2 separate regions of the Homo sapiens genome follow, and region 1 is linked to region 2. The links are contacts of gene promoters, found by promoter capture Hi-C in human tissues and cell types (Jung and others, 2019). All regions are on one chromosome and are shown on one strand. The core of a region is centred on a gene start or on the middle of the fragment in contact, and the rest is flanking DNA. Distances in the headings are between cores, read along the strand shown. Region 1 overlaps LINC02694 (long intergenic non-protein coding RNA 2694). Region 2 holds the start of EIF2AK4 (eukaryotic translation initiation factor 2 alpha kinase 4).

The links. Contacts are between HindIII fragments. The study calls those that stand out against the background at their distance.
Region 1: a contact is called between a fragment that was not itself captured here and the fragment with the promoter of EIF2AK4 in region 2, in 1 of the 25 tissues and cell types used here (hippocampus).

What each region holds. Positions count from the first base shown.
Region 1 is chr15:38,697,667-38,703,448 of GRCh38, forward strand. It overlaps LINC02694 (long intergenic non-protein coding RNA 2694), which reads left to right. Exons shown (of 2, transcript NR_160786.1): 2 at 472-2,372. Among named protein-coding and RNA genes, the nearest start is that of LINC02694, 4.0 kb to the left of the region's middle. The HindIII fragment of the contact is 3,418 bases long and covers 1,868-5,285 here.
Region 2 is chr15:39,931,349-39,937,215 of GRCh38, forward strand. It overlaps EIF2AK4 (eukaryotic translation initiation factor 2 alpha kinase 4), which reads left to right and starts at 2,767. Exons shown (of 39, transcript NM_001013703.4): 1 at 2,767-2,991. The coding sequence starts at 2,848. RefSeq lists an enhancer at 2,480-2,619 and a silencer at 2,640-3,049. The HindIII fragment of the contact is 10,364 bases long and covers 1-5,746 here.

The DNA of each region.
Region 1 (5,782 bases), core at 2,327-4,826, 1.2 Mb before region 2:
ATGATAGTGTGTGTTTTAAGCTGCTAAAGTTTTGGTAATTTATTATAGTAGCAACCGATAATAGAAATGGCTATAAAATGGAATGTATTTTGTAACTGAACATAATTTTCTTGCCTCTGGTGTCCCTAATTTCCTTGGTGGCTGGCAGTCATAGAGAAGTCCTTTTCCATGGTTAGCTGTGTGCCAGTGACGGGGAGGGCATCCTTACTCTGGTCTCAAGTGCTTCTTGGCACCCCTGGGTTTACTTTTTTGCTGATGTCCCCTGGCATAGGTGTTGCTAGAAGCTGGCGTTTTTAGGAAGCACGTAGAACTCTCTGCTCCTTCATAGTCAGTCAGTGGCTCCATCCCAGGCAGGTGCTCCAGACCCATCCCATTCATTAGTCATCTATTCTGTACAAGAAACTTGATGAATTTTATTTCATTTAATTCTAACAACTATATGAATTAGGTAATGTTATCCCCATTTTACAGGGAGGAAAGCTGAGGCTCAGAGCAAGTGAACATCTAACCCAGGGCCACCAACAAGAGCTCAGGGATTGGAATCTGGGAGAAGATGCTTCCCTTCTCTTCTCCAAGAGTCCTTTTGGGGCTGGCAAGTTGATACAAGCTCCAGCTCATGTCTTCAGACAATGCTGGGTCCAAGGAAATGCATGGATCTCCTGCATTACAAAGTTTGACTCCAAGAGAAGCCCAGAAGTGGCTTCCAGCCCCTCCTACCTAACTGTGCCCCGCCGTTCACCACTTCCTGTCTTCCTGCGACCCAGTGACAGATGTGTCTGTGGGGGCTGCTACTTGGGAAAGTCCACCAGGAGGAGAGCATGCCAATCTCTCCTCTCAGATCCTCTGGGGGTTACTTTCCCCACCCAAACTAGGCCTTGATGTCAAGGCCTAGTTACAGGGATGTCAAACTAGGAGGTTGATGTCGGTGTGGTGTGTAAGATGTTGGGGAGAAGCTGCAGGTGCCTTCTTACCAGCTCTTCCTGAAAACTTGTCTCTCCCTCTCCTTGTTAGTCTGTTTTATAACTCACACTCCAGCCGGGGGGAAGTAAAGGAGCTTATCCCGTTCACAGATCCTGTAACCCATGGTGGTTATTACCTCATAGCTGGTGCAGTGTTCTTTGAGCCTAGCAGTTTGGTTTAGACTCAAGTGTCTATTCTTTGCAGTCTTTCTGGGGTTGGTAGCAGAGAAAGAGAAGAGAACAGGTAATTCGATCACTCAGGTTATTCGTGTGTAAAAGTTGAAGCCCTACCACAAACGTATGAGTGGATGTTATAGTGTAATAACCTGGACATTGCCAAGACAGCTTCCTCAGGGCTTTTGTTTCCTCAAGCCTACCTGAAGGCTCTCTTCTCAGTCACGGGGGATGGAATTGTTTCATCCCTGGCTTGCTCTGGGCCTCAGTTTCCCTATTCCAGGATAGTTTCCCTATTCCCTATTCTGCATCATAAAAAAAAAAATACACTCCTGATAGAAGTCGGTTGATGCTTTTGGCCTGCAGCCTCCTTAAGGTTAATAGTCCACATAATTTCCTCAGGGGCCCTGGCTGGCCTGTTGTGGGTGTACCCATGAAGTATCTTGATTTGCTATGATAGGAGCCACCTTGGCTTCCTGTGGAGATAAGCCCTGCCCCTCGTTCCCACTTTAAGCTTGAAAAGTCCCTTATCCAACTTTGGAATGGGAACTAGAAAGACTAAGCAGTGTCTCTCAGGGGTTCCTTCTGGGGTCACTCAGAAGAGGAGAACCAAGCAGTCTTGGCGGAGAGACACCTGAAGTTGGTCACTCGGCACATTACCAGGGGCTCAGCAATGACCAGCCTGCAACCATCCTGCCTTTCCCCAGGGGTCTGGGCTCCAGCCATGGAGGGTGGACTGGAGACTCCTTTGCCTTTCAACACTGTCTGGCCTGTCTCGGGTCCGGCACGTCTTTTCTCTACTGATTTTGTGGCTGTGGTTAACTTAGCTAACCTTTCAGTGAAATAATGTCTAGTGGCATTCCTTTACATTTTCCATGTGCTGTTTTTTCCATAACTCCATTTTCTTCAGGGCTGAGTTTGGGTCTTCATTTTTCCACCCACAGGCCTAGTTAAGCTTGGTCTTGTGCTCCAACTTACCTGCCCCAGACTTCTTGGATGGACATTGTCAATCTGGTCATATTGAGAGTGAAACTGCCACCTAGTGGTCACTGGAGGTGTGCCTGCCTTTTCATGAGCTCTCTTGCTGCTGGTTACCGGAAACATCAGTTGATGGTTTTCTTCTAAGCTAACTCAGAAGCTGTGATGTGAATCAGACCAAACAATTTATCTGCTTCAAATCCATATTGTAAAGAGGTTTAATATAAAGACATATTTTCAAATCAAAATAAATAATGAAGCAAAAATCAGATAGACATGTACTCCTTTGCCAAACTGGAACACAATTTTTCTTTCTTTGACTAAATTTCAATTCAAATGAAGTCCTACAAAGACAAAACAAATCAACTAACAAACAGCCCAACAAAAACACCTAAACCAAACAGCCCAGCAAAAAGCGGAATGGTCATTTTCATTTATCCAACACAAATCTACTTAGTGCTGGGCTGGTTCTGGTAGGCAACCAAGTGTTTAGTGGATACCCGAGCAGCTCATTCTAATACAACATGGCAACTTAAAATCAGGTGAAGAAATGCAGTGGGAGAAAACAAAGAGGAATTGGTAACTCTGCAGAGCAGTGACATTTGAATAGACTTGTCAAGGAAGACTAGATTTAGTCAGGCAGGAGGGAGAGAGGGCAGGGAGGGAATTCTACCTGACTAAGGAAGAGCATGTGCAAGGCCTAGGGGAATGGAAGAGAAGAATGAGTTCAGGTGTCTGGAAGAGGTTGTCTTAGTAGGTTTCCTGTTGCTGTAACAGAATACTACAGAGTGGGTAATTTATAATGAAGAGAAATTTATTTAGTGTATGGTTTTGGAGGCTGGGAAGTCCAAGAGCATGGTGCTGTCCTCCAGGAAGGGTCATTCCATGGCAGGGAGGCAGAAGGGCAAGAGAGGGAGTGTGAGAAAGAGAGACAGAGACAGAGAGGGAGGGAGGGAGGAAAAGGGGGCCAGACTCCCAAGATCGCTCACTCACTTCTGTGATGACAGCATGAGTCTATTCACAAAGGCAGAGCCCTCAGGACCTCATCACCTCTTACAGGCCCCATCTCCCAAAACTGTAACAACGGCAATTAAATTTCAACAACAGTTTTGGTGAGGACATTTGAACCATAGCAGGTGAGTAGTGTGGCTGAAAAAATATCATTAAGTCTAAAGCCTTGTAATGCATTAATTAACCACCTATTTTATATATTTATTGGCTACCTGTCTTATTCAAAGTAGATATACAAAGGTATGAGACATGGAGAAAAATTTAAGATGACATGGAGGTATATTGAAAAGATGTCAGTTCTTCCCAAATTAGTCTACAAATTCAAAACTAGCACAGTAAAGATCCCAGCAGGTTTTTTCTTTTGTGGAAATTGAGAAGCTATTTCTAAAATTTATTTAGAAATGTGGAGCCAAAAATAGCCAGACTATCTTAAAAAAGAACAAAACTGGAAGACTGATACTACTACATACCAAGAACTTTAATAAAGCTAAACGAATTGTTGGGAAACTGGCAACAATTAAAACTGAATGTACACACACCCTCGGACCCAGCAATTCCATTCCTATGTACATGTCCAACAAAAATGCATATATATTTAATAGAGATTTATACTAGATTGTTCAACACAATGGTATTCATAGCCGTAAATGGTGACTATCCGAATGCCTTTCAACCCGGTGGTGTCTTTGTACAACAGGATTCTGTATAGCAATGAAAATGAATGATTTACAATTACACACAACACTCTGGATGTATTTCACAAATATTACATTAAGAAAAAGATGCCAGACTCAAGAGAATACACATTGTCCAATTCCACTTATATAAAACAAAAAAAGGGCCCCAAACAAGGTCTTGCTCTGTCACCCAGGGTGGAGTACAGTGGCATAATCACAGCTCACTGCAGCCTCAAATTCCCAGGCTGAAGGATCTTCCTACCTCAGCCTTCTGAGTAGCTGGGACTATAGGAGCATGCTATCACACCCACCTAATATTTAAAAAAAAACTTTTTGTACAGATGGGATCTCCCTGTATAGCCCAGGCTGGTCTCAAACTCCTGCACTCAAGTGATCCTCCTGCCTCAGCCTCCCAAAGTGCTGGGATTACAGGCATCAGTCACTGCGCCCAGTGTAAAAAATGGCCAAAATTAATTGTGGTAGATTGATTGTACTAGCAGCTCTAACTCTTCATCTCTTAAAATCCATGCCCTTTGCCATATGACTGCAGCTCCTTTCACTGAAGATGTGGAGTGTATTTCCCCAGCAGGGTCAGGACTATGGTGAGGCAATGAAGGCAACTGCCCCAGCCTTAAAATTAAGGAGGCACCAAAATCCTCAGTAATCAAGAAAAATAATATTGAATGCAATGTTTTTGAAAAATCAAAATTAATGCAAGAAAATCCATTGTGAACAAAATTTCGATAAAGACAGGAGCTGACCCTGCACTTGCATAACTCAATTTACTAGCCTCACTCTACTAGCCTCACTCTAATCCTGGCTCTGTCAGATCCTATCTTGAATAAAGAGGATGCCTGCATATTTCTGTTTGTTCTCTTATTCTCTGCTATCACCATGGCCATGCCTGGCTAGCCTGCTGGAGGCGAGCTGTCCCCCAACCCCCAAGGTGCAAGAGAAAGTCTGTGGGGGATCAGTCACAGTGGTGGGAAAAATTATAGGGAAAGGATGCAAACCTTCTGAAAGGTTGGAAGCTCCTGCAGAGCCCCAGGAGAGAATAGCTGAAAGCAGCTGTTCTATAACCCTGAGGCAGAGGGCAAGGAGTAAGTACAAAGGAGTGTAGGGGAATTTATCTTAAACAGGCTTGTTTACTTATGTTGACCAGGAACTGACCTTTGATCATCCACACACCTGACTTTCTCTGGAAGGAGAACAATAAATGTTAATTACCTACAGGTTGTGTTGGCTCCAGGTTTTTGGCATTGTGCCTGAGCTGAATAAAAGCAAGCAGCTCCAGCTTCTCCAGGCTGCTGTCTGGCCGTTAGAGCCAGCCAGTCACCTAGCTGCTTTTATACTGCATACCTGTGTCTGAGTACTCATTTCATCCATTGGCCAAGGCCTGTGGGACAGACCTGGCAAGAGCCCAGCCAAGATGAACCAACTTGCCTACACAACCACCCCCGTGAGTGAATGATAAAATATTGAAGTTTTGTGATTGTTTGTTCTGCAGCAAGAGCCAACCGATGCACTGAACTATGTAGTTAAGGGTCAGGATAGAGGTTGCTTTTGGGAGATGAGGCATGAAGTGGGTTCTGAGGTGCTGCTGAGTTCTGTTTCTTAACCTGGGTGCTAATTACACAGTTGTATTCAGTTTGTGAAAATTGACTTGTATGTTTATGACCTGTACAACTTTCTATATTTTTATATTTGAAAACATTTTAAAGGGTAGGTGACAAGGCTCTTACTATTTTTTTCAAGGACAACTTACTGGGATAAGATGTATAAAATAAAAGTTACAAGCACCAGAGACTGAAATCAAAATCCAGAATAAATTGAACTTGAACTAATATTCAGAAAAATCTATGAAAATACCTATTTTGGACTCTATCCACAATTATTTATGTGAAACCACTTAGAATTACTTAGACCATTATTTTTAAATTCTGTTAGGCATGACACAATCACAACATAAGAATATTCTCTGAA
Region 2 (5,867 bases), core at 1,517-4,016:
AAAATGCACCAAAGATGTGAATAAAAACAGAAGACAGACGATATATGAATGGAAAATAATCACATGAAAAGATGCCCAACATCATTAATCATTAGGATAATGCAAGTTAAGACACACTGAGATACTGCTAAGCACCAATTACTATGTTTAAGATTAAAAACATTACAATACCAATTACTGGCAAAGAGGTAGAACAACTGGAACTCCCATAAACTGATGGGAATATAAAGTGGTACAACCACTTTGGAAAACACTTTGACAGTTTCTTATTTTTTTTGCTTTGAACTTTGACTTTAAAATAATTTCCAACTTACATAAAATTTTCAAGTCACTCAAAGAGCTCTCATATATCCTTCACCTAAATTCTCCAATGTTCAACATTCTACATTTGATTTAGCATCATCTCTCTTCTTTTTCCTGAATCATTTGGGAGCTAACTGCATATTTAATACGTCACTGCCCCCTTAATGCTGCATTTGGTATAATACTGCCATGTAATCCACAGATTCCTTTCAAATTTTGCTGTTTGTTTTAATTATATCTTTTATAGGTCCAGCGTCCAGTATAGATTCTAATTTTACACAATGGAAATATTTGAACATAGATTAGGTATTAAACGATGCTAAGAAATTGTTAATTTTTTTTTAAGAGACAAGGTCTTACTCTGTTGCCCAGATTGGAGTGCAGTGGTGCAATCACAGCTCACTGCAGCCTTGGACTCCTGGGCTCAAGCAATCCTCCCACTCAGCCTCCTGAGGGTGGGACTACATGTCACCTCGTCCAGCTAATTTTTTATTTTATTTTTTGTAGAGATGGGGCCTCGCTATGTTGCCCAGGCTGGTCTCAAACTCCTGGCCTCAAGTGATCCTCCACCTTGTGCTGGGATTACAGGTGTGAGCCACTGTCCCTGGCCAAAGGGTTACATTTTTAGGGTATAAGATTAGTAATATGTTATGTTGGTTCCTTTTCTAGTTAGAGATATATCCTTAGGTATTTATTTTTTAAAATGATATGATTGAGACTTAAAAAAAACACTCCTGAGGGATGGAGAGAAGAGATGAAATAAAATTGACAAAATATCTATGGTTGTTGAAGCTGGATGATGAGTACAGAGGAGTTTACTTCTAAGTATGTTTGACATTTTCATAAATATAGGTTTAAAAGAATTTTTTTAAAGACCAATAGAGAAATGGAGTAATTTTAAGGATTAGAGTGCAATGGCCATATTTGCAATTTAGAAACATTACTCTGGCTGCAATAGGAAGAATGGCTTAATGTGGGGCAAGAATGAAGACAGTGACTAATTAAGAGAGTTATTGAAGTAACCCAGGGAATTGGTGACAGTAGCCTGAACTAAGTTAGTGGCAATGGGTTAGAGTGTAGTGGATGGACAGAAGTGGTGACTATTTGGATGTGAGTTGAGAGAAAGGGAATTCAGAATCACACTCAGTTGAATGGTGCCATTTACCTAGTCAGAGATCACTGGAGAAGGAACGGGTCTCCAGCAGAGGGAAGATGATGATTTAAATTGGCCTTGGGTCAAGCTAGTGCATTTGTGTTATCTGGCCAGAAATGAGTGGATAGATGGCAGCAAGGAATTTACACAATCATTATTTAGTGAACAGTGGAGGAGTAAGCAAGGTAGACAGAAGAAACGTCACTTAAACCTAACTTGGGTTAGTACAATAGGATTATTCGAAATGGACATGCAGCATTAGTAAGTTACTGAAGATGAAGTGCAATAACAATGTCTGGGTAGACAGGTTATTATTTTATAAACTTGAAAAACGACGACTTGAGGCAGGATATAACACAAAGACTCCCTAAATTCACACTGAGTGAACTGGGAAGGGAACATGATTCTCTTCATGGGAAGGTAGCTCATAAAGATGCCTGAGTGGAAAGACAGTTTTCAATTGAATTTGCAAGGTGGTAGTGGAGATCCCCAAAGCTGGGGAATGTAGAGACAGAGAACATAATGAGGGTGTTGAATCTGTGGCTCAGAGAATAAGTTTGGGGGTACTAAAGTGGGAGGAAGGAGGGTGGGGGGGGTCACAATTTTTACTCCCGGTAGTCTTGTTCTGGGAAGGTACAAGGTGAAATTAGAAGTGACCTCAGAACCCATCGACGTCTGCCCTTTAAGAGTTTCCCGGCCGGGCGCGGTGGCTCATGCCTGTAATCCCAGCACTTTGGAAGGCCGAGGCGGGCGGATCACAAGGTCAGGAGATCGAGAACATCTTGGCCAACATGGTGAAACACCATCTCTACTAAAAATAGAAAAATTAGCCGGGCGTGGTGGTGCGCGCCTGTAGTCCCAGCTACTCTGGAGGCTGACGCAGGAGAATCGCGTGAACCCGGCAGGCGGAAGTTGCAGTGAGCCGAGATCGCGCCACTGCACTCCAGCCTGGGGAACAAGAGCCGAAACTCTGCCAAAAAAAAGAAAAAAGAGTTTCCCGCACTAGCCATGCCAGGGTGGAGAAGTTCCAGCAAGCACTTCTGTTAAAGATACTTGTTTCGTGAAAACTATACAATGTGGCGTTTTCATTCCTATCTGTGATTCATTTCTTAAGTTCGTGGAGTTCCTTTGCTCCCCTTCCCCCAGCAGGATGTGGGCAAAGCTGTCCCCCTGCCTTCTTCCTTCGCCTGGGCTTCTGGAGCCTCCGGAGCTAGCTCCCGGCGCGGAGCTCCGCCTACGGCCCGTCCCCGGCGCGGAACCCCGCCCACGAGCCCGTTTCCAGCGTGGAACACCGCCCATAGCCCGTCCCCAGCGCGGAGCCCCGCCCCGCAGGCTGCCGGGGGCCCACCGCCGCCCAGGCAAGGCCGCCCTGCCTTGGGCGCAGCGCTGCCATGGCTGGGGGCCGTGGGGCCCCCGGGCGCGGCCGGGACGAGCCTCCGGAGAGCTACCCGCAACGACAGGACCACGAGCTACAGGCCCTGGAGGCCATTTACGGCGCGGACTTCCAAGACCTGCGGCCGGACGCTTGCGGACCGGTAGGAACGTGGCTTGTCAGGCCCGGGCTGGCGTGCCCTGGCCTCCCCGGGCCCTGGGCCAAAGCCCGGACACTTCCAGATTGGGCCGCCGCTTTAGGATCCTGCAGTCTTTTCATCCCTTAGGTTCCACCCATGCTCACTTTAGTCCTTGCACCTGCAGCTGGTCTGCAGAATCCCACCTAGGCCGAATTCTTCTACAGTCCTTTCCCCATGATTTCCCCAGAGGAATCCCCCTGGATTCCTCCCTCTTACCTGGCACTGCTTCTTATTCCTGCCTACATCCCATAACATAACTGCCTCCTTCCAACCTTGTCCTTTTTCCCCTCTGAAAGCCCTTGCGGATGATACCACAGCAATTCATACGCGCCCCTTGCTACTTTGTTCTGAGAACGCTTTTTGGGCTCTCGCACAGGCCTTACGTCCTCAATCAGAATTCTCAAGTCTCATCCATGCATTCAAATCTGCACGCCACATAATTCCCTCTGTACTCCCCAGGCATCCTCACTGTGTTTTCCGGTATGGAGGAACTTTCCATACCTCTGCACCTTCCTCTAAGACATTTAGCTCAGAATAAAGCACACATTCATCTTAGCTGTAGTAGAGAGAGGGTTCTAGACTGAGTCTAGAGAAGGAGTGTCCAATCTTTTGGCTTCCCTGGGCCACACACAAAATACACTAACACTAAGGATAGCTGATGACCTAAAAGAAAAAAAAAATTCGCAAAAAAACCTCAATGTTTTAAGAAAGTTTACGAATGCGTGTTGGGCCACATTCAAAGCGGCCCATGGGCCTCGGGTTAGACCAGCTTGCTCTAGCTCTAGACCTTTTAAAATGGCATTTTGTTTAAAATAATATTTTGCCTTTTTGTCTGGAAATTAAGGCACGTTATAAAGTATTTATACTGACAGTTTTTTCCCCATCCTTGAAGAGTTGATCTACCAAACTATTTCTGAATATTATCATATTATCATTTAAAACATAGTTCTAACTTCATCTGCTTTTTTTTTTTTTCTTTTTGAGACAGGGTCTTGCTCTGTCTCCCAAGCTGGAGTGCAGAGGCATGACCACGGCTCACTGCAGCTTATTCTCAAGCAATCCTTCTGCCTCAGCCTGTCAAGTACCTGGGACTACAGGCACATGCCACTACACCTGGTTAATTTTTTTAATTTTTTGTAGAGACAGAGTCTTGCTCTGTTGCCCGGGCTGGTATCAAGTTCCTGAGCTCATGCAATCCTCTCACCTTGGCCTCTGAAAGTGCTGGGATTACAGGTGTGGGCCACCGCGCCTGGCCTCTTCATCTGCTTTTAACTTTGGCATTTCACAACATCTGCTCTATCTACACATCCAGGATTTCCTCAAGAAATACCATCTTCTGGAGCTATCAGGACAAAATATTCTCTCTCAAACTCAGGGTGCTTCTTCCTTCATTAAATATTTGTTTTAGGCATTAGGAATACAGCTGTGGGCAAAACAGACAAAAATCCTTGCCCTCAGGGAGCTTACTTTTCTAATGCTTAATAATATGAAGTTATTTTTAACCTGAAATGGTAAAAATATAAATTATTCCCCTTAACATGACAGAGAAGTTGGTGACTGGGGAACTTCTATCTTCCCAAACCTTGAGAATCAGGAAGTAGGCCCAAGAAGCAGCCAAAATAGGTGTCTCAAAGTGTACATGGGACTCAACACAAAGCTCCTAAGGCTTCATTCTGAACTAGTTTGTTTACTTTATACAAGCTTAGTTGTCTGCTCCTAGGGCTGCAGAAAAATGGAAGAGAAAAAGCAACTTCTTTTAGGTAGGGATATTGATAACCTCAAGAATTTATAGCTGGTGGCTTTCATAACAAGATGGAATACTAGACAAACCAAAGCAAAAACTATAGAAGGCAGGCAGAAGAATTTAAATAGCTGTCTGTGGCCTATTGTACACCGGGCAAATGGCCTCAACACATTCATAGGACTGGCAGGCAAATAATTGATGGTCTCAAGGATGAATCAGAGTTTAGTCATTCAACAAGCACTTATTATCACCTGCTATTTGCCAGGGAAAAGTGATGCAGGTCCAAAATCCTTTATCCAAAACTCTTTATTGAGAGGGAGTTTCTCTCTGTCGCCCGGGCTGGAGTGCGGTGGAGCAATCTCGGCTCACTGCAACCTCCACCTCCCAGGTTCAAGCGATTCTTGTGCCTCAGCCTCCTGAGCAGCTGGGATTACAGGTACCCGCCTCCACACCTGGCTAATTTTTGTATTTTTAGTAGAGATGGAGTTTCATTATGTTGGCCAGGCTGGTCTCGAATTCCTGACCTCAAGTCCTCCCGCCTCGCCTCCCAAAGTCCTGGGATTACAGGTGTGAGCCACCGTGCCCAGCCTTTTATCCAAAACTCTTGAGACTTGATGGGTTTCAGAATTCAGAAGTGCTTCTGTTCACGTTTATGTGTGCACATTCCACACATTACCTAATACCTTCCTCAGTGTCTGGGGCAGCATCGAAAATCAAACACAATGAAACATAGAAATACTCAAATTTCACACTGAACAAATAAACACTATAACTAACCTCATGTCAGTTCAGGCTAAATTTGCTGCCAATAAATTCAGGTTAGATTTTTTTTTCAACTTCTTTTAGTGGGGATGTGTTGTAATATAAATTTCAGTTTAGTAGCATATGTATATCATTTATAAATAACATTTTGAGGTGCATGCTAAAAACTTTTGCATTTGTAAAAAGTTTAGACACTGCTAGTTTAAAGTATCTATAATTTATAGATAGTTACAAATTACTAACTTATTTTGGCTAGCTTTCCACAGCAGCAAAAGGTCTGCTCATTTATAATTTGATAGCTTTTGGAAACATCCCTCCAAAAAACTTGCTTCAA